7 separate regions of the Homo sapiens genome follow, and all the other regions are linked to region 1. Evidence: promoter capture Hi-C in 16 types of primary human blood cells and fetal thymus (Javierre and others, 2016). All regions are on one chromosome and are shown on one strand. Each heading gives the region's core, a stretch centred on a gene start or on the middle of the fragment in contact. The rest is flanking DNA. Distances are from core to core; before and after follow the strand shown. Region 1 holds the start of SNAPC3 (small nuclear RNA activating complex polypeptide 3). Region 2 overlaps TTC39B (tetratricopeptide repeat domain 39B). Region 3 overlaps CCDC171 (coiled-coil domain containing 171). Region 4 overlaps TTC39B (tetratricopeptide repeat domain 39B). Region 5 overlaps TTC39B (tetratricopeptide repeat domain 39B). Region 6 overlaps CCDC171 (coiled-coil domain containing 171). Region 7 overlaps TTC39B (tetratricopeptide repeat domain 39B).

The links. The method cuts DNA at HindIII sites, captures the fragments that hold promoters and counts their contacts. A CHiCAGO score of 5 or more calls a contact.
Region 2: a fragment that was not itself captured here is called in contact with the fragment with the promoter of SNAPC3 in region 1 in 7 of 17 cell types (activated CD4 T cells, M1 macrophages, M2 macrophages and 4 more); the score reaches 11.9 in activated CD4 T cells.
Region 3: a fragment that was not itself captured here is called in contact with the fragment with the promoter of SNAPC3 in region 1 in 2 of 17 cell types (megakaryocytes and fetal thymus); the score reaches 5.3 in megakaryocytes.
Region 4: a contact is called between a fragment that was not itself captured here and the fragment with the promoter of SNAPC3 in region 1, in 2 of 17 cell types (M2 macrophages and M1 macrophages). The highest score is 6.8, in M2 macrophages.
Region 5: a fragment that was not itself captured here is called in contact with the fragment with the promoter of SNAPC3 in region 1 in 3 of 17 cell types (M1 macrophages, non-activated CD4 T cells and total B cells); the score reaches 6.4 in M1 macrophages.
Region 6: a fragment that was not itself captured here is called in contact with the fragment with the promoter of SNAPC3 in region 1 in 13 of 17 cell types (fetal thymus, non-activated CD4 T cells, naive CD4 T cells and 10 more); the score reaches 15.7 in fetal thymus.
Region 7: a fragment that was not itself captured here is called in contact with the fragment with the promoter of SNAPC3 in region 1 in 3 of 17 cell types (non-activated CD4 T cells, M1 macrophages and M2 macrophages); the score reaches 6.8 in non-activated CD4 T cells.

Annotation. Positions count from the first base shown.
Region 1 is chr9:15,420,503-15,424,488 of GRCh38, forward strand. It overlaps SNAPC3 (small nuclear RNA activating complex polypeptide 3), which reads left to right and starts at 2,374. Exons shown (of 9, transcript NM_001039697.2): 1 at 2,374-2,691; 2 at 3,407-3,484. The coding sequence starts at 2,378. RefSeq lists a silencer at 2,101-2,390 and an enhancer at 2,731-2,850. The HindIII fragment of the contact is 2,004 bases long and covers 819-2,822 here.
Region 2 is chr9:15,228,240-15,231,891 of GRCh38, forward strand. The region is part of intron 2 of TTC39B (tetratricopeptide repeat domain 39B); the gene reads right to left. Among named protein-coding and RNA genes, the nearest start is that of TTC39B, 77 kb to the right of the region's middle. The HindIII fragment of the contact is 3,048 bases long and covers 331-3,378 here.
Region 3 is chr9:15,637,065-15,641,060 of GRCh38, forward strand. All of the region lies in intron 7 of CCDC171 (coiled-coil domain containing 171), which reads left to right. Among named protein-coding and RNA genes, the nearest start is that of CCDC171, 86 kb to the left of the region's middle. The HindIII fragment of the contact is 203 bases long and covers 1,643-1,845 here.
Region 4 is chr9:15,170,528-15,174,304 of GRCh38, forward strand. TTC39B (tetratricopeptide repeat domain 39B) reads right to left here. Exons shown (of 20, transcript NM_152574.3): 20 at 1-1,582. The coding sequence ends at 1,492. Among named protein-coding and RNA genes, the nearest start is that of TTC39B, 130 kb to the right of the region's middle. The HindIII fragment of the contact is 1,046 bases long and covers 1,777-2,822 here.
Region 5 is chr9:15,254,933-15,258,885 of GRCh38, forward strand. The region is part of intron 2 of TTC39B (tetratricopeptide repeat domain 39B); the gene reads right to left. Among named protein-coding and RNA genes, the nearest start is that of TTC39B, 50 kb to the right of the region's middle. The HindIII fragment of the contact is 2,190 bases long and covers 1,216-3,405 here.
Region 6 is chr9:15,603,837-15,607,690 of GRCh38, forward strand. The region is part of intron 6 of CCDC171 (coiled-coil domain containing 171); the gene reads left to right. Among named protein-coding and RNA genes, the nearest start is that of CCDC171, 53 kb to the left of the region's middle. The HindIII fragment of the contact is 2,025 bases long and covers 528-2,552 here.
Region 7 is chr9:15,187,295-15,190,969 of GRCh38, forward strand. It overlaps TTC39B (tetratricopeptide repeat domain 39B), which reads right to left. Exons shown (of 20, transcript NM_152574.3): 11 at 3,260-3,368; 12 at 2,431-2,498; 13 at 2,280-2,339; 14 at 677-838. Among named protein-coding and RNA genes, the nearest start is that of TTC39B, 120 kb to the right of the region's middle. The HindIII fragment of the contact is 5,799 bases long and covers 1-3,675 here.

The sequences.
Region 1 (3,986 bases), core at 1,124-3,623:
GTAAAGAACTTGAATATACATTTCCCCAAAGAAATATGCAAATGGTCAATAAGCACATGAAAACGTGTTCCATCAATATAATTAGGGAGATGCAAATAAAAAGTCATGAAACACCATTTCACACTCACTGACACGGTTATAATAAAAAGTTCAGATAAGTGTTGGCAAGGATGTGGAGAATCCTGCTGGGGAGGGGAGTAAAATGGGACAGCCACTTTAAAAAAATCTGGCAGTTCCTCAAATAGTTGAAAATAGAGTTCCATAAATACAGAAATCCCTTGGTATCTGCAGGGTGGACTGTTTCGAAGACCCCTGTGGACTCCAAAATTGACAGATGCTCTTCTTGCAGTCAGCCCTGTGGAATCCGCCCATAGGAAAATTCCTCTTATCCTCAGGTTCTGCAACCTGGGAATACTGTAATTTTTGATATGTGGTTGGTTGAATTGGAGGATGCAGAACCCACAGATAGGGAGGGCTGACTGTATACTACTGGGCACATGCCCAAGAGAAATGAAAACGTATTTGCACAAAAATGTGTACATGAATGTTCATAGCAACGCCAAAAGGTAAAAACTTTTTGATAAATAAAATGTGGCATATACATACAATGCAATATTATTCAGCCAAAAAAGGAATGAAGTACTGACACATACTACAAAATGGATGAACGTGTTACAGGTGGCAGGTATCCAAGTTACCAGGGCAAATCTGTATGGGTCTGCAGCAACTTCAGTTCTTGCCTCCTCAGAAGAAAGAATTTGACCGAGGGGCAATAAGGCACAAAAAGAGACTGAGGCAAGTTTCAGAGCAGGAGTGGAAGCTTATTTAAAAGGCCTTTAGGAAAGAAAGGAAAGCACGCTCGGAAGAGTCCCAAGCTGTCACTGAGGTCAACTGTGATATTGACCTCGATCCTAGGACTTTACAGGCTGGCTCCTTTCCCATGATTCTTCCCTTAGGGTGGGCTGCCTCCATGCGCAGTGCCCTCCTTACCCTTGGGAAGTGAGCACAGCGCAATATGTATGAAGTTGTATGCGTGCCCATCTGAGGCTTTCTTCCCTTTTCCGATAGAGTCCCCCTGAAAGGTCATACTCCCCGATTTTGTCTCTTAATGCATATGCCCAGGAAGTTGCTTCTCCCTGTCACCTGCATTCAACGAGCACTTTAGTGCAACAGGTGTGGGCCATCAGGAAATGGCCTCTCCCTGGCACCGGCTGCCAATTTATCACTTTTAGAGGCAATGTGATAAATGCCTAAGCATCACCCCACATTCCTAGTGGGTGAGGGAAGAGCCCTCTCCTGCCCTGCTCATGCCTAACTACCTGTAACAAACCTTGTAAACATTAAGCCAGCCACCAAAAGACCATATAATTCCGTTTATATTAAATGTCCAGATTAGTTAAATCTAGAGAGACAAAGTAGGTTCTTGGTTGGCTAGGGCTGGAGGAGTTGGGAGGATCAGGGGTGATAGCTAAAAAGTACAAGTTTCTTCTTTCGAGTGGTAAAAATGCTCTCAAATAGTGGTGATGGTTGCCCAAGCCTGTGAATATACCAAAAATCACTGAACACTTCAAATGGGTGAATTATATGGCATGTGATTACAGTCTAATAAATAAATAGTATGTCCTGCTGTATCCTTCAGGGCCTCTGAGAAATGGAGAGAGCTCCATCTGAAGCCAGACTGAGTTCCGATCCTGCTTCTATTTTCCCCGCAGGTAAATCCTTCCTCAACAGCAACACGGGGTGATACGCCCTATCCGGAAAGGTTGTTGTAATTTTTAAAAACATTAAAAACATACATTAGGGTTAATCATGTAGCGTGTGATACACAGACGCTCTGAAACACTACTGCACACGCACACCAACATGGGGCCTCTGCGGAGCTTGTGAAAGAACCAGATCTGGAGGGCTGGTCGTGTCCCTGGTCTCGGCCCTCGCCCTCCTTGTTTCTTAGGCTCTAAAGCAATCAGGCAGCAGAGCAGTCCTTGAACCCCAGTCAAGAAAAAGCCCTGCACCCCTTAGTCCGAAAGCCGCAAGGAACGGGGCCTAAGCGCCTGGCGAGGCCGCCCTACCGGGCAGAGACAGTTGCTACGTAACTCGGGGACCAGAAACCCAGCCCCACCCGCTGCGGTTAACCGACAGCCGCAACGGTTCCCGCACCGCCCGGGTCGGAGAACAATGCTGCGCCCTGCACGTAGAGCCTCGCGGTGCCGCGCCCTGGGGCGGGCCTGCCCATGGCCTGCCGGGAAATGTAGTTTCTGATGCCCTGCCCGCGCCGCCTCGCCGCTCGCCGGCCGGGCGCCCCAAGCAACTACAACTTCCATCACGCTCTGCGAGGCCTTGATCTGCAGGCTTTTGCAGGGGAAGGAGTGGGGCGAACATGGCTGAAGGAAGCCGAGGTGGCCCTACGTGTAGCGGGGTGGGTGGCAGGCAGGACCCAGTCTCCGGCAGTGGCGGCTGCAACTTTCCAGAGTATGAGCTTCCCGAGCTAAATACGCGCGCTTTCCATGTGGGCGCCTTTGGGGAGCTGTGGCGGGGCCGTCTGCGCGGGGCCGGGGACTTGTCGCTGAGGGAGCCGCCGGCATCCGCTCTGCCTGGGAGCCAGGCAGCTGACTCCGACCGGGAGGATGCCGCGGTGGCCAGGGATCTGGACTGCAGCCTGGAGGCGGCGGCTGAGCTGAGGGCGGTGTGCGGGTGAGTGCGGAGCAAAGGGGCTCTTGCAGCTTGGGGTCAAACAGGGTGCAGCCTTGCTCGTGCGCTCCTCTGGGACTCATCCCTGAGAAGGGCCTGTGGTTTAGACCTGGGCTAGGAGTATTACCCTTTAAAGCTTTCAACCCGCTGGAGCCTTCCTGGGACACCAGGAGAAGTCCTGGGACCCGAATGCACAGTTTCTACGAGTTGGAGCAAAGGGACAAGACAGCTGCATCAAAGACTAGTTTTTCCATTTGCTTATTCTAAGAGTGCTTGTTAATAAAGAAAAGCAATCAGGGCAACAGCGACGTGTACCTGCCATTGACAGACACTTTGACAATGGAGGAACCTGAGTAATGGTGAAGCTGCGGGAGACTTCATCAGAGGAGTGTTAAAACCCCGACTAACTGGTTTCTTTTGGGGACCTTCCGGGTATTCTGTTACTGAAATATTTCTTAAAAGTGCCTTATTTGGGGATGAAAATATAAAAATAACTTTAATCTCTTTCTCCATTTAACAGTACTGGCTGCCTTCATCGGCCTTTTCATTATAAAATATAATCACAGAAATCGTTGTCTTAAGTTCTGGCCTCTCTGAGCCGCCTGCTGGATTTTATCTGACTTCGTAATTCAGTAATGTATTTAGGAAAACAACCCTAACTCGCTGTGAACCAGATGCAGAGTCGACCTTAAAGTATTGCTTTTCCTTTTTGTTTTAGCCTTGATAAACTGAAATGCCTTGAGGACGGTGAGGATCCAGAAGTCATTCCGGAGAATACTGACCTGGTGACTTTGGGGTATGGAGGACTTGGTTTTTATGACCTATTTATTTAAACATTTTTTCAACATTATGTTTTGAAAAGTTGAAAGTGCAGTATTGATTGTTGTCTGTATACCCACCCCTTAAATTCAGCTGTTCTTAATATTTGACCATATTTACTTTAGCCGTGTGTATGGGATGCCTGCTGTGTGTTTTTTCATTTTGCTATCCCCCATTCAGTAAGTTAGACATGATAATTTACCCGTAAATACATAAGCATATAGCTTCTAAAAGTATCATTCTCCTACATAATTATTGTGGTATTATTATACCTAAGAAAACCGTAAATACATAATCTATAATATTCAGTCCATATTCAAACTTGTGTTTATTTTTTAATATTTTTGAATGTTTGTTTATAGAGGTAATCTACTTAGATCTGGGGGGCAACCTAAATACTCTGACAGTGTTTTTCAAACTATTTGTGGTAAAGGACAGTTCTTGTTTTTAAAAATTTTTAATCTTTGACAGATTTATGC
Region 2 (3,652 bases), core at 605-3,104, 190 kb before region 1:
GATCACTTGAGGTCAGGAGTTTGAGACCAGCCTGGCCAGCATGGTGAAACCCCGTCTCTACTGAAAATACAAAAATTAGCCAGGCGTGGTGGTGGGTGCCTGTAATCCGAGCTACTCAGGAGGCTGAGACAGGAGAATTGCTTGAACCCGGGAGGCGGAGGTTGCAGTGAGCCAAGATTGCACCACTGCATTCCAGCCTGGGTGACAAGAGTGACACTCCATCTCAAAAAATAAAAACAGTAATAATGAATTGGGAGGCCTTCAGCAAAGATGGTTCCTATACGAGCAAATGGAAACTCAACTCACCGTAAACAGTAAAAACAAAACTTAAGCTTAGCCAATCAGAAACCGCCAACTCACCTCTAACTAAGAACTTCCCACTTGTTCCAGTCAAGTATTTTATTTGTCTTGCTTCTTTAAATACTTCATAAGTTTCCCCCTCCCACTCCTTAAGTAGAACACTGAACTGCTTGTGTTCTAATGATATTCAATTCAGGAATCACTTATGCTCAAACAAACTAGTTAAAATATTACTGTGCCTAAATTAATCTGTTAATAAAAGCTAAAATTATTGTATCTTTACCTGGCACAACAGACTTGACTTTAGCAGAATATAATAATTATTAACAAAATAATGTTACATTTTATTCATCTTTTCTGAGGTATAAAAGATTAGATTCAGATTCTTCAAGTTCTTTATGTTTGTATACACATGTACACGAATTCATGGAAATTCTACAGTATTTCTAGATTTATGTTAATATCACAATAAGCATATCATGCCACAAACTAATTTTTTTATTAAACAGGATTTTTTTAGATATAGACATAACCCATTTATTGAAAGTACTGTCTAGTGTTTTAAGAATGCATTTTCTCATTTCATTAATAAGAAATGCTTCAAATACATAAAGTAGAGAAAATACTATTGCAAACACACAAATATAATCTAGAATCCATTTTTGTGTACAGTCTGAGCTACATTTAATTCTTTCCTGCATGGATAAGCAAGAAATAACTCATCTACTTGTTATAAGAGCTTGGAAACAAGGCAAAAGGAAGACTGCATGTCCTCTCAAGGTCACCTTGGAGCACTGTCTGACAGGCCCACCCAAGGAACATTTAATTCCCTAGGGAGTATATATCTTGTTTGGCTTGCTATTTACTATTAAAACCTATACTCTGTAAAATTATGTTAACTTGTAGATTTTTTAATCTGGTAGATATGCAAATAATTTCTGTGTGGTAAGATTATGGTTTTATTACCTTGCCGGAGGTTAACCAGTGTTGTGCATAACAAACCTTATTTCAACACTTTTTCTTTCCTCAGTTCTCCAAATGCTGTTACCAGGTTTACCATCTTGCTGATTTCCTCACTGACATGCGTTGATTCCATAATTATGATACTTTGACATACTGGATTATTCTGCAATCTCTTACACACAGCAATTTTCCATACGTGCTCAGGTCTGTTTCTGGGCATTCTTTTGTTCCATCACATATTTGCCTCTCTCTGCACTAGTCACACCGTTTTTATTATCATGGCTTTCCGAGACCTGTAAGCCAACTGGGGCAAGTTCTCTACTTTATTAAACACTCTTTTTGTGGGGTTGTTATTATTACACCTACATTCTTGTTTATGAATTTCAGAGTTAGTCATTATAATATTACAAGCAAGTCCTGCTGGAGTTTTGACTGGGAATTCATTACATTATTAGGAAATCTACAGAGAATTGTTGTCTTTATAACATTGCATCTTCACATCTTTACACATTTATTCAGGTCTTCTCTTATTTCCTTCAATAAAGGCTTTTAATATCTGAACACTGCACTGATATGCATGTACCCTTGCAAAAGAGCCATGCTAAATCTTTATACTGGAGGCTACGAAAAATAACACACCAAACTTCAATTACAGCTATTAGTACATTGGAATATATGCCCTTATTTTGCCCTATTTTAACGGCTCTAACTTTTAAGTTTTTAAACAGCTTTATTCAGACCTAATTCACAGACCATAAAATTCACCCAATTAATGTTTACAATCAATGGTTTTTAGTATATTCACAGACTATCACCACAATCTAATTTTATAATATTTTGTCACCAAAATGTATCCATATATTAGCAGTCACTCCTCATTCTCCACTCCACCTCCTCTAGTCCTAAACAACCACTAATCTACTTTTTGTGTCTATAGATTTGCCTATTCTGGACATTTCATATCAATGGAATCATAAAAAGTATGGTCTTTATGCTTGGCTTTTTCAGTTAGCATGTTTTCAAGATTCATTCATGTGGTATCATGTAACAGTACTTTATTCCTTTTTATTACCTAATATTATTCCATTGTATAGCTATACCACATTTTGTTAGTCATTTGTTGATAATATATGAATAATTTGCATTTTGTGGCCATTACGAATAATGCTGTTATGAACATTCATGTACAAGTTCTTGGCCAAGGCATGGTGGCTCACTCCTGTAATCCCAGCAGGACTTTGGGAGGCCGAGGAGGGCAGATCACTTGAGGTCAGGAGTTCAAGACCAGCCTGGCCAACATGGCAAAACTCCATCTCTACTAAAAATACAAAAATTAGCCAGGCATGGTGGTGCACACCCGTAATTCCAGCTACTCGGGAGGCTGAGGCAGGAGAATTGCTTGAACCCGGGAGGCGGAGGTTGCAGTGAGCCAAGATTGTGCCACTGCACTCCAGCCTGGGTGACAGAGTGAGACTCCATCTCAGAAAAAAAAAAAAACAAACAAGTTATTGTGTGGACATGTATTTTCATTTCTCTTAATTATATATCTAGCATTGCTATGGAATGCTAAATTATGGTATGTGGAATTGCTACATTATGTGGTAACTTTATGTTTGACATTTTGAAGAACTACTAGACTGTTTTCCAAAGTGGCTGTGTGATTTTTCCGATTTTTTTAATTTTTATTTTTTGTAGAAATGGTGCCTTGCCATCTTGCCCAGGCTGGTCTTGAACTCCTAGGCTCAAGCAATCCTCCTACCCCAGCCTCCCAGAGTGCTTGGATTACCAGCATGAGCCACCATGCCCGGCCAGCTATGTGATTTTATATTCCCACCAATAATGTACTAGATTCCCAATTTCTTAACAGCTTGGCCAATACTTGTTTTTGTCCATGAGATATGGTGGTATCTCACTGTAGTTTTTGGTGTGCATTTGCTTAATGACTAATAATGTTGAGAATCTTTTTTAAGTACTTAATGGCCAATTGTATGTCTTCTTTGGAGTAATGTCTATTCAGATTATTTTCCCATTTTTAATTGAGTTACTTATCTTTTTATTATTCATTTGAATACTGCTCTAATTTTAATCACTAGGTACAACTATTTTCGAGGGTAAAGCTTACAGCTATCTTTGTTTATACTTTTTCTCTCAATCAAATCATAGATAGCAGAGCCAATTCAAATTTAACTTCCCCAATAAATCCAACACAATATGTTATGTTCCTGCGCAATGAGATAAAAGCTAGTCCATATTTAAAACTAAAATAAAATTTCAAAAATGAATAAAAATATGTCCTTCAAGGTTTTCCATCAACGTTAAAATCTCTCCTTAGGGGAGAAAAGGAATGAGTGTAGATAGGCCAACTGATGTGCTCTGGAAGCCACCATGT
Region 3 (3,996 bases), core at 494-2,993, 220 kb after region 1:
GGCCAACATGGTGAAACCCCATCTCTATTAAAAATACAAAAATTAGCCAGGCATGGTGGCGCTCGCCTGTAATCCTAGCTGCTCTGGAGGCTGAGACAGCAAAATCACTTGAACCTGGGAGGTGGAGGCTGCACTGAGCCGAGATTGTGCCACTGCACTCCAGCCTGGGCAACAGAGCAAGACTCTATCTCAAAAACAAAACAAAAGAAAAAGTAATAAAATGCACACAAAAAAGAAAATATCTAAACCTAAACTTTAAGGTGTGGTTGTGCACAACCCGGTATTGACTTTTTTCTGTAAAATACTTAATTTCCTCAATATCTGTTTTTATTGGTTGATGTTATAGGTATAATATTATTATAGACTGGTTTTATTTTTACTTTTTAAAATTTTTTTGTTTATTTTATTATTATTATTATTATACTTTAAGTTTTAGGGTACATGTGCACAATATGCCGGTTAGTTACATATGTATACATGTGCCATGCTGGTGTGCTGCACCCATTAACTCGTCATTTAGCATTAGGTGTATCTCCTCATGCTATCCCTCCCCCCTCCCCCCACCCCACAACAGTCCCCAGAGTGTGATGTTCCCCTTCCTGTGTCCATGTGATCTCATTGTTCAGTTCCCATCTATGAGTGAGAACATGCGGTGTTTGGTTTTCTGTCCTTGCGATAGTTTACTGAGAATGATGATTTCCAATTTCATCCATGTCCCTACAAAGGACATGAACTCATCATTTTTTATGGCTGCATAGTATTCCATGGTGTATATGTGCCACATTTTCTTAATCCAGTCTATCCTTGTTGGACATTTGGGTTGGTTCCAAGTCTTTGCTATTGTGAATAGTGCCGCAATAAACATACGTGTGCATGTGTCTTTATAACAGCATGATTTATAGTCCTTTGGGTATATACCCAGTAATGGGATGGCTGGGTCAAATGGTATTTCTAGTTCTAGATCCCTGAGGAATCACCACACTGACTTCCACAATATTTTTACTTTATGTTTTTTTCTTTACTGCTGTGTAAATACTTTTGATAATACCAGGTCTCTGCTTTTGGAGAACTTGAAGCTTTGAAGGTAGTCTAGATAGTCTTTATTTTTCTTCTATTTGTAAGAATTTTACAAGTGGAGAGCTTTAGTCTTCTAAGTTACCTATGATTTCTCATATTTAGATTCTTTTTAAAAGCTTTGCTTTATATTATATATCATGTGTTGTATATTAGTTAGTATATTTTATGTTGGCTGTTTGACCACATAGTGACATAATGAACAAGAAGTTAAATTTCTGGAGAGCATTTTATGTTAGTTTTACACTCAATTGCGGAGACAATCACTACCAGTAATACTAGGTACTTAAGTAATTGTTAGTGGTATTTTTAAGAGAATTAAGGTAAGATGGGATAATAATAAAGAAGAAGTTGTTAAAATTTTAATTTAATAAAGTACATTATTTAATATCAGCAATATCAAACTAAAGCAACTAATAAAATAGACATTTAGCCTAATGAATGTTTTAAATTCTAGTGAAGCTTTTTAACAGTTGCATTTCTTGAAAGGTGATTTTTTTATGTGCCTGAGCCAAAGAAGTTTTTATATATATGAAACATAAATATAAAAGAATTTAAAAATCTTATAAGCTTTATATCACTGTGTCTTAATCATCTTAACATGGATCAATGCTTTCTTAGATTAAAAAAAAACAAACAAACTCCCAATCCAATTTTATAAATGCAGTACTGGATACCATAGAATCAAGGGAAAAGCAAACTGGAAAAAGAAATATCCATGGCTTTTATAAACCTCTTTACAACTAGGGGAGTTTATTATCATGGGAAATAAGCTTAACTCAATAAGAAAAGAGAAAAGAGAAGATGCAAACCTAATTCTGAGAGAACTGAAGAATCTTCTGAAGATTATGGTAGAGAGAGAACAGTCTTTGCAAATAAATTCTGAATTGCTTCTGTCAGTCATATTCTATATTATAGTAACATAAAAAAGGGTAAAAGGTAGCATCTTTCTCTAAATGCGTACTATCTTCAACTGAAAATGGAAAAGTTGTATTTTACCTTTCATAATTGTTGATAAAGACCACCTTGTATGATTCATCTTTTTAAAGCCATCATGTGTTTGTAGGAATCATTTTCAAAGGTCCATTTGCATAGATTACTAACTATAAAATAGGTAAATGATGAAATCACCTGTGTTATACAGTCATAGGTATTACACATTTAAATGCAGCATTTTATGTTTATAATAAATTTTAAGATTGGAACTTCAGTTAAAAATTTGGTAAATACTCAAGTTTTTTTTGCCAGAAAAGGTAGAGATAATTTTTAAAGAAGGTAAATCAGTTTATTATCATGTTAATCAGAATTTGCGACCACAAATTCTGTTCCTGATATTTCTTATTTTTATTATCTGTGGGTTTTTTGATTATACCTAGAAGTAATAAAACTTTTTCTTCATTAAACTCTTTTATAATCTGAGTGGTATACTTCATTTCTTGCTGAATAAAAAAATTACAGTGTTCTCCAGTTTATTTCTATTGTCAGCCTATTGTCCTCATATATCCCTTCTGAAACCGTTAAGGCTCTGTTACCATCCTCAGTGACTTTAACTTTGAATTTTCTACCTTCAGAACTGCATAGTTAATCATGATCAAGATGACTGGCACAGAGAACTCTGAATCTTTCTATGTTCTGCTATGCTTTATATGAGCCTGTTTATGTAAAATAATCTAGGGGATTCTGGAAAACAAATATGTTTTGGCCATTAATAAAACAGTTACAGATGAATTGTAGTTCAGAGAAGTAAGTAGAAGGAATATCCTTTAGCGACAAATGAATTTTTGTCTACAACACAGGTCTTTTGCTTACTCCTAATGGAAATGCTTATAGATGTGTCAGGACTCGTTTTGGCCTTTGGGCCAAGGACCTAGTATGGCATCTGGCATATAGTAGGTACTCTATAAATGTTCCATTCTGCTTTTTAGTTGACCTATATAGTAAAATAAGTATCAATGAGATCATCATGAAAAGTTATAAACCTATTCATTTGTTTTTAATAATCTTTTGTTTTTATGCAGTCACATTTGTTTAATGGGATTGAATATAAATGTAAAATGTTTGGACTTCTATGAGGGTACAATAAAGTGGATAGGACTTCCTGACCAATTCACTTCCAAGACCAGTTGGACTTCCTTCCTCTTCTCTTTTACATGGCAGTTCCCGTGTTCTGAGTCACAAAGCAGCATTAATTTTGTCTCTGAGTTGTTTTTCTAATGTACTGTGCTGGCCACATGGAAAGTAGGAGAGCTACTTAAAAAAAAACACCACCTTCAAATTAGAATGCCTTATTAAGATTTAAAATATTATGTATCATACGAGGCCCCTTATGTAAAATATATCATGTTATTTTAAAAGTCAAATGAGAACATACACGAGAGTTCTTTGAAAACTGTAGCATATTAATATTTAACTCTAGGCATAATCTCCTCAGTGACATTAATGTAAATACACTCTGTCATGTAGAAGTGACATTAGAAATATAAATGCTTACATTTAAAAAGCCAACATTGAAGGTCAGACTAATTGAATAATATTATTGTTTCTTAACATGTTTGATTAGAACAAGGATGATAAATAGTAAAGGGCTTATAGACAGTTCTTAATTATGACCCTTCAATATATGACTCTAGCGATTAAGTGATTTAATACTGTGATGCCTGTTTTACAAATACTTATCAAATACTTGGAGACTCTGACCCTCTGAGGCATCTTTTTTGGTAATAAAAATCCTTTGAGACCTTCTGTTTAAGGGCTCAAAAGATAGTATTAACAAGTGTGCCCCCCTTCCCTGCCCAGGTAAAGAATAAGTGTTATATTTAAATATTAACATGCATATAATAAAATATTAACAGCTATTAAAATGTAACAAAATAAAATACACTTATCATTAAAATAAGCATCGTAGAATTAATCAGTCTATGA
Region 4 (3,777 bases), core at 1,050-3,549, 250 kb before region 1:
ATTGAGCCCTCACAAGTACCAAATACCACACCGCTATCCATAGTGGGGCAACTGAACCCCTGAAAAGCTGAGCTACGTACTCCGTGTCATGGAACTATTAACCCACAGAGATGAACTCGTGACTCCCAATATGTGGCTCCTTCTGTTAAACTGCAGAGGCTTCTATGACAAGTTATTCTTCAAAATGGAAATAGAAATAAGGCCCAGATTCATCAACTCATAAATTGTCTTTTCTCACTCTGGATGCCACAACACATACATGTGGGGAGTTGGGGGCAATGATGATGATTGAAAAATAAAACACTCCAAGTGGGAATGGTTTGCATTCGACATTTTAAAGTCATTTGTTGAAAATAAATACCTAATACATAGACTCACAGTTATAAAACTGAAAAAGACCTTGAAAGTCATCTGTTCTTTAATCTTGATTTCACAGAAGAAAATGTGGTGACACACAGGGCACAGTGGACTCCCTAAAGGTCTCCTCACTAATCGCTAATGGGTAGCAGAACCAGGACCATATGGAGTGTCAAGCTCTCTTCTGCTCTATGCCCTGATTCTGTTTCCCAACTAAAGGACTAAGCAAGGTCCAGATTATCTACAAGGAGACATCACAGTGCTAGAGAGATTAGAAAACTAGGTCTTACCAACATCTTAAGTGTAAAAATTATTGATATTTTACATATCATTTAAAGCAGCAGGAAATTTACTTCCTAGAAGAAAAATAATCCATGTATGTATTTTAGGCTCTCATTGCTAAGGTTAAGAAAAATTCCTAAAATATGACACTTCCTTCCCTTTAGATACACAGGGGTTTTGAATTTTGTTATTATAATAGACTTAAGTACATTCAAAATCAGTCTCTCCAAAACGTCACCACCTTTAATCAAATGAAGAGTAAAAAACCACTAACTGAATACTGCATCATCCTTTATAGAGAAAGGTCTCTTCAACCCATGAAGTACATTATATCGATCCGTGTTCATGTTCTCAGACTGTCTTTTTCAGAAGTCTTCTGAAGGTCACTGTTAAGCTATTTTAAATGCAATGATATTTATTTATCTTCTGAAATTTAAATACAGGCAACAAAATATCTCTGAAGTTTAACTACCCAACAAATCCAAAATTGGCTCAACTTGTAAGCTATTTGCTAAACAATATTAATTTTCACATTAAAAAAATAAATAATCTAATTAGACTATTGCATCTGCAAGTCTTTCAAAAGACTTCTTCGCCCCCTAATTCAAATAATATGAAATTCTTTTGGGGGAGGCAAAATATAAGAATTTTCTAGATAATATAGAATGCCATTCCATAGGAAAAAAAATTATGTAGACCAACAGTAAATCTCTCAGATGATAGAAAATATTGACCAAAAAAACTGTTTTTTTGTCTCTTATTCACAAGATCATTTTTCCACTTTAATATAAGGTTGAATCTATAGCAGATGCCGATGCTAATTGAGGAAAAATTCCATCCTTCAAGTTCTGATCAATCTGAGGAAGGTTTTCTCCAGAGGTGAAGAGCTGCCTGAATTCTGAAGTGTAGTCTGGACTCCAGGGAGTAATCTTTGTAGTTGTTCCTGAAGACAATAACAATAAAATTGTACAGTCAAAATTTCCTTATATACCAGGTACCACCACTCTCCCATTCCTCTCTCTGATCTACTTACTTACTTTCAAACTCTAATATACATAACCGTAGATCTTAGTAAAATGCAGATTCTGGTTCTGTTGGGGGGTTTTGGGGGGAACTGCAATAATCTGCATTTCTAGAAGCTTCCTGGTGGTCATCTAAAGGTCATACTTTGAGTAGCAAGGTTCTGCTTAATTACCAAATCATTCACAAGCATAGCAAGAAGTTGTGAGAAGGGCTGTACAAATTTTGTGAACTAGTCCTAAATAATTAGACTTCCTTTTTTAAATTGGAAAATTTTAAGGTAGGTGCATATAAACATGGTTAGCATGATCACATGATCGATCACTCAAGAAACTCAAATGAAACAACTGCAACAAAGGCAGCAGAATTACTTAATGACGTCAAAATTACTTATTCCAATTCTCACATGTAAATATCAATGGTTTGGCCAATAATTACATAAGAATTAGGCCAATGTCTTTAAAGGGGGCCATAGAAATCCAAAGATTATTTAAAACCTGCCTAAGAGCATTTATGTTGACCTCCCTTTACCAGAATTGTTAAGAATCAGAAAAATGGAATACTTTTACATACTGCCTTGGCCCATGGGTGAGCTATAACTGCTTTCTTTACAGTGGCACTTATTTCTATAGCCCTTCATTTTGAACAGGTATAAGGGCTACTCACTGGTAATCTTGATGTGGGTTAGTAAAATGTATTATTCATAAACTAAAATCAATATGTTACTGGAGTTTACCGACAGATGGAATTGAGTATTTTCCTAAATGCCACCAATGTGGGCAACTTTGCAAAGCTCCTAATGCATAAAGGGAAAGTGCAGATAATAGTCTTGGAATTACTGGGAAGTATCTTTATGTTTGAATTGTCAGTATTGTCTTGAGTTAGTGGAGGCTTTTCATTGCTTTTTAGCAGTGAGTTACTAGTCTTTTATTTTTATCTTATAAAGTTGCCTTATTATACATTGTATATTCAAATAATGAATATTTGGAACAGCAGCATTTATAATCCATAATTTTCCAATAGCTGGATTTGAAGATATCTATATCTAACACATGAAATATTGGTCATACTCCCAACAAATTAACTTTAAAAGCAACTTGCTCTCATATCACCTATATATAAATATTTTAAGGAAGCCCTTCTTGGCTCTACCATGCCCGTAAAGCTTTTGCCCCATTACGATGTTCTATTCACAGCAAACATCCTAAAAGAGTTGCCTAAAGTAGCGGACTCCATTTTGTTTGTCACCTCATTTGTCAAGGTCACCAATGATACTCATGCTGCCAAATTCAGCAGCCACTTTTCTGGTCTTAACTTGTTTGACCTCTTAGTTGCTGCCCTCATAACTGACCATGCTCTTCTTTTTGAAACACTATTTGGTTGGCTTTCCTAGATGTCTTCCTAACTCTCTTAATCTTCTTAATCTTATCATTTAATGTCTAAGAAGATGGCATATCCCAGACATTGTGCTAGACCTCTTTCTCTAGCTATATAACATTCACAAAATGACTTCATCACACGCCATTGCTTTAAATATTACTGTCTCTGTGCTGTTGACTGCAATCTCTACATTCAGCCCTGACCTTATCACTGAACTTCATGCTAAGTATGAACGCCAACTTGCCATCTACCTAATATGAGTACCTAATAGCCATCTTAAAGAATCATGGTCTGAACAGAAGTATGTTTCGTTCTCTCCCCAAATACATTCTTCTAAGTATTCCCCAGCACAGCAGAAAGCATCATCATTGACCCAGTGGCTCAACCTCCTCAATGCAGATGTTCACTAACTGTGACTTCTGTCAGGAATGCTCCCTACCTAGTTGGTTGATTTCTGATGACTGATCTCAAGATTGGCTTTAATTATGCAAATCTCAGCTACAATATCATTTCCCCAAGGAAATATTTCAGAATCAATCTATCCTGAAGTAACACCCAGGCACCATGTATCATATTATAAATCTCAGCAAACATATACCACTGATATTTTTCTTGTCTATTTAGTATCTCCCTCTGGCTAACAGAGCAGAAGTATTGCCTGCTTAGTTTATAGTTGTCTCTCTAAAGCCTTTACTAGTAGTGTCTGACACATAATAGGTGCTCAGTGAATAACTGCTG
Region 5 (3,953 bases), core at 1,061-3,560, 170 kb before region 1:
CTAAAATAAATAAAAATCAAAAGCTTATAGCTGTATTGCCTACAGGGGAGACCAAATACTATGCCCACACCTTTGAAAAGGTTAATTCATCAGAGCTATATGGAGTTTTAACATTTTTCATTCTAACTATAACATTCTGCTCATCAGGTAATTTTAAAAGACCGCTGCTGGTATGAATATTTTCATTCTAGACAATAAAAATAAAATAAATAACATAGAAATTACTTTATACAATAATAAAAGTTATATGTAAATCCCCAAATATCTCTTCAGTTTTAGGCAATTTCAGGGTTCTTCCAATTTGTTGATGGCTATTAAGTCTTCAGACTATTTATTAGATGTGCATCATGCATGGTACTGAACTATACACTATTCAAAAATGTACCTAAACCAAATATCACTATGCCTTTGAGGAGTTCTATTCTCTGGTCGTAGAATAATGTTCCACAAGCAGAGACAAAAGGGGGAAAGAGGGAAGAAGGAAAAAGAAAGGAGACCAGAGAGGCTGATGATTTTCGGAACACAAGCAATGAAGAAGTTTGGCGCATTTCAAAAGACAAAGCTCCCAAGTATATGCTTTTGGGTGTTTTATTAGTCATCTTAGGTTCCTATTTTTATCGTGAGGTAGATGAAAAGGGAATGGATGAAGGCGTCAGAAAAAAAAAAAGGATGTCAGGTGAAACAGGGTAAAAAGTTAACAAAAGGCAATGAGCTCACTGTATCCTTTAAGATTCTGACACTCATTTATGCAAACGTCAAGTGAAAACTGAGTCAGCCCTTCAGAGAAAAATGGCAATGGAGACACCAACAATTATGGATAGTGTTTACTATGCCCAAACATTTGGACTTTATTTAATTATATATGCATTTGAGTTTATGAACACAATCAGCCACAGTCTTTTTTTTTAACTGTGTATTCCAAAAGATCCCTTAACTAACCATTTGAATAATCACAGCAATTATCACTGTGCCCTATACTCATTAGGAACTCAATGGTGGCTACATTTTTTTCTTTAATTTACTGCAAATCCTAGCAGTCTACTCTGAGGATCCACCTATATTTTCTTAATAGTACATGCTATGGTTTAATGTTTGTGTCCCTCCAAAATTCATATGTTGAAACCTAACCCCCAAAGTGATGGCGTGGGGCCTTTGGAAGGTGATTAGGTCATGAGGGTTCCACCCTTGTAAATGGGATTAGTACCCTAACAAAAAAGCTTGAGGGAGTCTCTTTGCCCTTTTTCCTTCTTCTTTTTTTTTTCTTTCCCCTCTTTCCACTATTTTCTGCTTCCTTCTACCACGTGAGGACACAAAGAAGGCACCATCTATGAGGAATGGGCCCTCACCAGACACTCAATCTGCTGCCACTTTACTCTTGGACCTTGCGGCCTACAAAGCAGTGAGGAAATAAATTTCCATTGTTTATAAATTACCCAGTCTAATGGATTTTGTTACGGCAGCCCAAATGGACTAAGACAGTATATTAATTTCACACATTCATTTTTTCAACACATATATACTGAGCACCTACTATGTGACAAGCATGGTGCATAGGTGCCAAGTACACCATGACAAGCAAAGTAGATCAGACCCATCGTTATAGAACTTGGAGCTCAAAAAAACAGATGATCAAAAAACAAGTAACAATTAACTGCAAAATGAGAAATGGAGTGATAGAAACAAACAAGATGCCAAGACAGAGAAATGGGGGAAGACTAACTGTTTTGGTGGAGTCACTGAGAAAGTGGGAGGACACGCCAGCTGAGAGTGGAGGATGGCCAGCAAAAAGCCCTCAAAAGAGTGAGGGCAAACACGCTCCAATCCGGAGCAGCACAGGGTTTACTCTCACAAAAAACTGTATAAGGCTTGTGGCTGGAGGGTCATGCATGAGGGCAAGAGTTGCCCTCGATGAGGCAGAAGCAGTATGTGGGAGCCCAACCACCTCAAACCTTATGAACAAAGGTAGATTGGGTCTTCAGCTTTAGACAGGAAAACTCATGGATGGATTTTAAGCAAGCAGTGACATCATCCCATTTAATTTCTAAAAGGATCACTCTTGTCCTGATTCACACAAACATACTGTTAAAAAAATAAATGAGACAGTCGGAGAAATTTGAGCACTGACCAGTTACTGGACGGATATTATTATGTTTTAGGTGTGACAACAGTCTTGTGATTTTTTAAAAAGCGACCTTTGCAAGCTAAATACAGATAAAATGATGTCATATAAAGCATACAGATTAAACTATAGCTCTATATCAATGTTAATTTCCTGATCTTGGTATCTGAATGGTAATTATGAAAGAGACTGTCTTTGTTTTGAAGAAATATATTTTAATATATTTAGAGGTAGAAATAAATTATCATGTCTAGGATTTGATTCCAAATAATCTGGGGATAGGATATGGATGAAATAAGATTGGCCTTGAGTTGACAACTATAGAAGCTAAGTGATTAGTATATAAGGTTTGGTTTACTATCCTCTTTACTTTCTGTAGATGTTCAAAATTGGTCATATTAAAAATTTTTTTTTTGAGACAGGGTCTTACTCTATCACCCAGGCTGGAGTGCAGTGGCACCATCACAGCTCAACACAGCCTCGACTTCTGCGGCTCAAATGATCCTCTCATCTCAGCCTCCCAAGTAGCTGGAACTACAGATGTGTCACCACACCTGGCTAATTTTTTGTATTTTTTATAGAGAGGGGGTTTTGCCATGTTGGTCAGGCTGGTCTCAAACTCCTGGGCTCAAGCAATCCACCCGTTTTGGCCTCCCAAAGTGCTGGGATTACAGGCATGAGCCACCGTGCCTGACGCAAATTATCTTATTTTTAAAAATAATTTTAGGCCAGGCACGGTGGCTCACGCCTGTAATCCCAGCACTTTGGGAGTCCGAGGTGGGTGGATCATCTGAGATCGGGAGTTCGAGACCAGCCTGACTAACATGGAGAAACCCCGTCTCTACTAAAAATACAAAATTAGCCGGGCACGGTGGCGGGCGCCTGTAATCCCAGCTACTCAGGAAGGCTGAGGCAGGAGAATCGCTTGAACCCAGGAGGCAGAGGTTGCGGTGAGCCGAGTTCGTACCACTGCACTCCAGCCTGGGCAATAAGAGCAAAACTCCATCTCAAAAAAAATAAAATAAGATAACTTGGGCTGCTGTATGGAGAGTAAGTGGGGTGCAGTTGGAAAAGTAGAGGGAGAGAACAAAAGAAGCGGGAACACACATTAACCATTAGCCAGCTCTTAAAGTAGTCCAAGCAAAATCTTATAGTCACTTAAGCTAATGTAATAGAGCGGAGAGAGAGGAAAGTGAACGGATGGGAAATATATATTGGAGGTAGAAATCATCAGACTTGGTAATGTGGAAATTAAAAGAAAAGAAAGGAATCAAAGATGTCTCCCAAGCTTCTGACTTGAACAAATGGGTGGATGGTGGGTGGAGACATTTACAGAAAAGGCAAAGTTTTCAGATAAACAAAGGAGGTGGATACCAAGAGTTCAGTTTGGGACATAAAAATTAATGTGTTTGTGAAACATCCTAGTGAGTGATAAAAGAAGCAATGATTGGACCTCTTTCCCATTACAACTACCAAAATAGCCCAAGACAGCAGCAGGGAGCAGCAGCCATGTCAAGAAGGTTACTTATGGAGGAGGCAAGGAACTCAGTGTAAGAGCAAAGTCCTGGCTTTCAGACACAAGCTGAGCATTGCTACCAGGGCTGAGAAAGTCAGAGAGGACACTGAGCCTGCAGAAAGGCAACCACAGTCACAAAGATCCTGCTCATAGGGGTTCACTGGTCATTCACTTTGCACCAGCAACACCCCAACCACGACTCAGTCTTCCATCTCTGCTGGGACCTCCTTGGTAAGATGAGATAATTGCACCAAAGTGTTGCTAAGGAGCTTTCCTTCAGAGGCTTTCCTTCAAGTGATGAAATCTTGTCACTCCTCA
Region 6 (3,854 bases), core at 290-2,789, 180 kb after region 1:
CACAATGGTTGAAGTAATTTACATTCCCACCAACACTGTAAAAGCATTCCTCTTTCACTGCAACCTTGCCAGCATCTGTTGTTTCTTGGCTTTTTAATAATTGCCATTCTGACTGGCCTGAGATGGTATCTCATTGTGATTTTGACTTGCATTTCTCTGATGATCAGTGATGTTGAGCTTTTTTTCATGTTTGTTGGCTGCATGTATGTCTTTTTTTTTGAGAAGTGTCTGTTTATGTCCTTTGCCCACTTTTTGATGGTTTTTTTTTTTCTTGTAGATTTGTTTAATTTCCTTGTAGATTCTGGATGTTAGACCTTTGTCAGATGGATAGATTGCAGAAATTTTCTCCCATTCTGTAGGTTGCCTGTTTGCTCTGATGATAGTTTATTTTGCTGTGCAGAAGCTCTTAAGTTTTTAATTAGATCCCATTTGTCAATTTTTGCTTCTGTTGCAATTGCTTATGGTGAGTTTGTCATGAAATCTTTGCCCTGCCACAAGCTTTTCTATTGTGGGACAGGCAGTGATAAAGCTTTGTTTCTAAACTATCATGCCCCTCCTTTGTTATTTTTCCAGTTAATTTCACGTATACTTTATCAGTGGGATTGAAAACATTTAGAAGATGAATATATATGTTTTCATTTTTATTTCATTTCCAAAATTCTATACCTCAACCAGGGAATACAGTTATCCTTTCCTTATTCATCGACTAAATTTGGTGTATGTGTCTAGTGATTGAAGCATGGGGGAGTTTGTGACGGTATGGGAAGTGTAGCTTGAAAATAATTCCATGAACTATAGAAAGAGGAGGAAGAGTAGGGAGGCAGTGAAGAAAGTTATCAGACCACCCTTAGTAGGCATGGTCTGATAGGCCTTAAGACAATCCAGGGATTGGGGTGCAACATATCAAAAGCTGACCCAGTAAGTATGATTGTGATGTAGTGACAACTCGGAGGAAGTTACGTGAAAAGAAAGTGTTTTTAGGAATATCCACGTAACAGAATAGTATGCAAATACACACAGAAATAAGATATGAACATCAACAGATGGATGCAAAATATTAGGAATATAATTTTATTTTGTTTTATTATTTTATATTTTTGAGACAAGGTCTCACTCTGTTGCCCATGTTGGAGTGCAGCGGGACTATCACAGCTCACTGCAGCCTTTGCCTACCTCAGCCTCCTTTGTATCTGGGACCATAAGCATGTGCCACGAAGCCTGGTTAATTTTTAAAATTTTTGTAGAGATGGGGGTCTTCCTTTGTTGCCTAGGCTGGTCTTGAATTCCTGGGCTCAAGTGATCCTTCTGCCTCAGTCTCCCAAAGTATTGAGATTACAGGAGTGAGCCACCACACCTGGCTTATAATTTTATTTATGTAACACATTAACATATGTTGACATGTATGACAGGTAAACACCTTAAGGAAGTTTACCTTAAATAATCAAGGGCAGCAAGGAGCATTTCTTTTCTTCTGGAAAACTATGTACTGGTATCCTATTAACAAATGGCATAGAAAAGGACTCTGACACTGATAACTTTGTTATAAAAATGCCCCTAATTTGGCCGGGCAGAGTGGCTCATGCTTGTAATCCCAGCACTTTGGGAGGCTGAGGCGGGCAGATCATGAGGTCAGGAGATTGAGACCATCCTGGCCAACACTGTGAAACCCTGTCTCTACTAAAAAAAAAAAAAAAAAAAAAATTAGCCGGGAGTAGTGGCACGCACCTGTAATCCCAGCTACTCAGGAGGCTGAGGCAGGAGAATCGCTTGAACCCAGGAGGTGGAGGTTGCAGTGAGCCAAGGTCGCACCACTGCACTCCAGCCTGGGCGACAGAGCGAGACTCTGTCAAAAAAAAAAAAAGAAAAAAAAAAGTCCCTAATTTAGGGAAATTTAAAAGCAAGAAAGTAAGGGTCTTGCCCCTTTCACCTCTGATTTCGCTCCTCATGTCAGGATATAGAAGCATTACGTTTTTACATAAATAAAATGATACACCTCAATAATATTTTGCCTCCATCTTTTGATGTTCATACCTTATTCTTTTAGTATTTGCATGGCATTCTGTCATGTGGATTTTCCTAACATACTGTAGCCTTTCCCTTACCTGTGGGGCATATGTTACATGACACCAGTGGATGCCTGAAACTGCAGATATGCTGTGTTTTTTTCTATACACACACATACCTATGATAACGTTTAATTTATAAATTAGGCGCAGTAAGAGATTAACGATGTAACTAATAATAGAACCATCATAACAAGATACTATAATAAAAGTAATGTGAATGTGGTCTTTCTCCCACTCTAAATATCTTATTGTACTGTATTCACTTATTTTTGGACCTAGGTTGACTCAGGGTAACTGAAAGGGAAGATGAAACCGCAGATAAGAGGGAATATTGTATTTCAGTAATCTCTTATTGATGCACATTTTATTTCTTTCAAAATTTTTAGCTCTAATTAATGATTCACTAACATTCTTGTCCATATCTTTGAGCAGTCATACAAATGATTCTTCGTGTAAATGCCTAGAAATATAATTGTTTCATTTTCAAGCTTATGGATTCACAATTATGATAAATGTTATACAAAGCACCAGTTTATGCTCTATAGCAACAAACACTTTGTAATTGTAGAACTTTGCTAGCCTTGGGGACTTAGAGAGGAGGAACTTGTTCTGGGTCTTTCAGGAGATAATAATGTAATAGATTAAGGTTGTAGTTAGCTATATTGATATATTTTATAAGCTAGAAAAGAGGAGTACATTTAACTCTGATACTTTTCTAACTAGTGTAATTCTTCAGAATTGGAACGGAACTGTATTTTGGATTCTGAGAAATGTTGTTTATATGAGTATATATAAAGAATTATACTTTTTGGGCTACGTTTCTGGAAGATGTGGAAAGAAAGCAAGTTTATTTTCTAACAGCCAAATGTAGTTTCCTGTGATATTAAATGTCAGTTCAAAAACAAGCCTCATTTTAAAATATTTTAAGTTCAACAGCCCCCTCTAGTGGAAAAAAGAAGAACTTCCCTCAATTTCCAGTGTCCTTAATATGATTTTATTTCACACACACAGACACACATAATAAAGATGCAGGTAGCTTTTGGTGTGATTGGAAAATATGTTCTGTAACAAAAATTTTAAAGTTACATTTATTTGGGATGAAGGCAAGTTTTTCTGTAAATTGCATGAGGTATTTTTGTAGTTTTTTTGGATTTTCTTGAGTGTTACATTGCATCTCAGGATTGGATGATATTGATAAAGCCATAAACTTAAAGCAAATATTTGAACATACAACCCCCCCAGGGATTTATATATACTCAATGCCCAATATAACCCAGCAATACCATTAATGTAACAAATGCTACCTAGATCATGTTAGTGTGTGTTATGTTTACTGGAACTGGAAACAAACAGTAAATTGTTATATCATTGAAGACAATTCTGAGTCACTTCCCCATCCTGCCACAACTTCAGCCCCAAAAGAATAACTGCCATTCTGAAGTTGGTGTTTAATTTTCTGTCTGTATACATTGACAGTATATTGTATTATTTTAGTATTTTTGTTTTAGGATATATATTAGAATATCATACAGGATGCTTCTTTGTCAAACTTATATTTTTCACTTTTTTTTTTCTTTTAGACAGGGTCTCACTCTGTCACCCAGGCTGGAGTGCAGTGGCGCGATCTTGGTTCACTGCAACCTCTGCCTCCTGGGCTCAAGCAATCCTCCCACCTCAGCCTCCTGAGTAGCTGAGACCACAGGCACGTGTCACCACACCTGGCTAATTTTTGCATTTTTTAGTAGAGACGGGGTTTCGCCATGTTGGCCAATCTATTCTTGAACTCCT
Region 7 (3,675 bases), core at 1,168-3,667, 230 kb before region 1:
CATTGCCCTCCAACTTCTCATAAGTGGATCAGAATTAATTTTCATTATCATGAAAAGCCTGGGCATCAGGGCACTGGAAAGTCTACACAAAATTATCAACATGATTAAGATTTCATAACTTTATAAGTACAACTCATTTTCAGAGATAAAACCTCATGTTTAAAATAACTCTTTGTTGTTGTTTGAGACAGGGTCTCACTCTGTCACCAGGCTGGAGTGCAGTGGTGTGATCATAGCTCACTGTAGCCTCGAACTCTTGGACTCAAGCTATCCTCCTGCCTCAGCCTCCCACGTAGAAGGGACTATAGACATGTACCACCATGCCTAGCTAATGTTTTTATTTTTTGCAGAGATAAAATCACACCATGTTGCCCTGGCTAGTATCAAACTCCTGACCTCAAGCCATCTTCCTGCCTTAGCCTCCCAAAGGGCTGGGATTACAGGCATGGGCCATCGCATTTGGCCCTGAAAAGAACAGTAGATGGCTTTTAAAGCATGCAATGCTGAGGACAGTACCTATAAATAGTGGGTACTTAAGGCACATTTCCTCCTTTTGTGGATCTCTAAGTTGAGAAAACACTGTGGTATCATACTACTGAGCAAACAGTCCTAAATGAAAATCATCCTGGCCATGTATTAGCAAACAGATGACATTAATGAAAGTATTGCACTTTACCTTGGACCATTTACTCTCTTTGCAAAGCAGATCTGAATAGTAATATGCCTGCATCCAGTTTTGTTGGAAAACATTAATCCACATTAGCTCCCAGTAGCAGAGATGGTGAAACTGTTTCCATTCTTCTTGAACTGAAATGCATTTTTGAAATACTTCTTGTGCCTGTAAATCAAGTACACAAAGTTGATCGTCCAGATATTAGACAAGGAGATAATAACCTAATGGAAAAATACATAAAACACTTAGTACAAAAAGGACAAAATTATCACTCATTAAACCTCTCAATATGATGATATGTTCTTTTCCTTACAGGCAATGATACAGTTAAGTTCTGCCTCTTTCTTTAATTTTGTGAGAGGGCCTTGACACTTTGTAATGTGGGAGTGGGGAGGTTCCATTCCAAGGAAGATATCAAATGCAGAAATCATTTAAGAAAAGACTGACAATAAAGTTAGAACTTCCATAGGACAAAACACTGTAGGCAGAGTTACAGGCAACAGACAGGAAGAAGATGTCACTATCTACGTAACTGGCAAAAGGTTAACTCTTTTATCATTCATCAATTTAATAAAATTCTGTAAGAAAAAGAAAACTCAACAGGAAACAGGCAAAGATGTAAATAGGCAAATCAGAAAAAAATATATAGATGACAGATATACATGTGGATAAATTTGTAAACTAGGCAATATAAACTTAAAAATTAGATTCTCATTTTTAGCCATCACGTAATGTCCTGAGCCAGCAAAGAGCATTGGAAAAAAATATTTTTATATGTTTACTGGAGTTTACACTGGAACAATCTTAAGTGAGGAGGACAATTTGGCTGGATTTATAAAAATGCAACCACCTTTTGGCCCAGGAATTCTACTAATCATAATCTGTCTTCTATAAATGTACCTGTGCACAGAAATATACATACAATGATGTTCACAACAGTTTGTAGTGGCCAAATGTCTATGGACCACTTTAATAGGTATAGTATATCCATCCCATGAAATGAAACCCAGCCATCAAAAAGAATAGGAGACATTTAGGCATACTGATCTGGAAAGAGATCCAAGACATATTGTAAACAGTGAAAAAAAAATCACAGAAAAATACATTTTGATCCCATTTGTGTGGAAAAAATGGTTTGTGAATGTATATACATAAATGGCTCCTTACTTTTCTACTTCTGACCTCGACGCTTCGTTTTTGAGGGAATTCGTTTTTTGAGGGGTCCTTTGATACGGAGCCCACACGTAGTAGACCTGCATGTCACACAGGGGCTAGATTCCAAAGTCAGTGTGTAATGCAGAAATTGGTAACAGTCACAGTTTCTTGAAAATCCCTGAGCTTGTTATTTGGTATATATTACCCTAAAGTGCTTAATGTACTCTATGTATAAATGTAGACTATATTCAGTAATCCACTGCATAGATTTTATATAATAGAATGTATATACAAGTTAAAAGTTTTGGCTTTTTACTTATATATTTTTTTCTTTATTTTTGTCTAGTCCATATAGCCAAGTTTACTTTTGTTGAATAAGTAGGTCACAGCGACTCATGTAGGAGTCGCCATACAGACAACTCCCCCAAATAATTCCCACCTAATAAATTACCTCTTCAAGATTCCCTTTCAGCAACTCTATTCGGGCATGATAAAACAACACGAGTGAGCCCTGCAGAGCAAGGAAGAAAACACACTGTTCAACAGTCAACACTGGCTGATTAATTATGGTTGAAACATACACTTTGAAATACTGAGCGTACATTTGGAAACTGCTGGAGGAAGGGTGCCAGGAGACGCTCTGCTTCCGCAACATTCACTTCTCCTGTACCTAGAAATTTAACAGGAAAAGACTCAGTCTTCATAAGACATGGGGATATTTATAACCAGCTCTCCAAATTTCATTAACATACAGTAAAGACCTACTCATGGAAAAGATGAAAACTATTATTTCATCATTTTTATATCTGGGGAATAAAATAAAGACCAGTCTCACCTATAACTTTAGTTTAAGAAAGCTCTAGGACACACTAATTCTTAAGAATGCAGGTGGCTGTCTCAGATTCCTAATTGGAATTTCTGGTTTTAACAGCAATATTAACTTATTTAGCCCAAAATTTCATTTTCTGCAAAGAAAAAAATCTCATATATGATAAAATAGATCACCTTAATATAGAAATTTTAGCTGAGAACAGATGAAAATTATTTAATGAAAGAAACTACCCTACTCCTTCTGCTAAATGTCACTATGACAAAGGACACTATTTTCTACCTTTATTCAAAAAAAAAAGTAAACAGATATGAACTACTAGCTCTTGCTGATCTTTCTAAATTTTTACTTACTCAGATTAAAAATAATCAACTTTATGTTTTGTCTTGTTTTGTTTTTTTTAATTTAGAGACAGGATCTCGCTCTGTGGCCCAGGCTGGATCCAGTGCAGTGACGTGATCATAGCTCACCGCAGCCTCAAACTCCTGGGTTCAACTGATCCTCCCACCTCAGCCTCCCAAGTAGTTGGGATTACAGGTGTAACACACCATGTCTGGCCAAGACAATCAATGTTCAATGAAACAATCTAATCCAGATCTTACCAAGTATTAGGGAGATGTAAGTATGAAAAGCTAAGATGGTTAAGCAGCACAGTGCAGACCTCATGCTCCTTCCTGAAGCACCTTCACGTAACTGCAGGAGGCCCAACTCCTATGGGAATTAAATGCATTTTTAGAAAGAGAACAAGACTGGAAAATCATATTCAGAAACTTTTTAAACATTTTTATATATTAGGGGGGTTACAAGTACAGATTTCATATATTACGCTGTGGTGAAGTCTGGGCTTTTAGTGTCCCTATCACCGCAAGAGTGAACATCATACTCAACAGGTAGTTTTTCAACCCTCTCTTCCCCCACCCCTCCCATCTTTGGTCAACTATTAAGAAAGCATAGGAAACCACGTGAGAGTAATAAGATCTAGCAAGAAGCAATATTAGCAACACATAATTTTTCATCC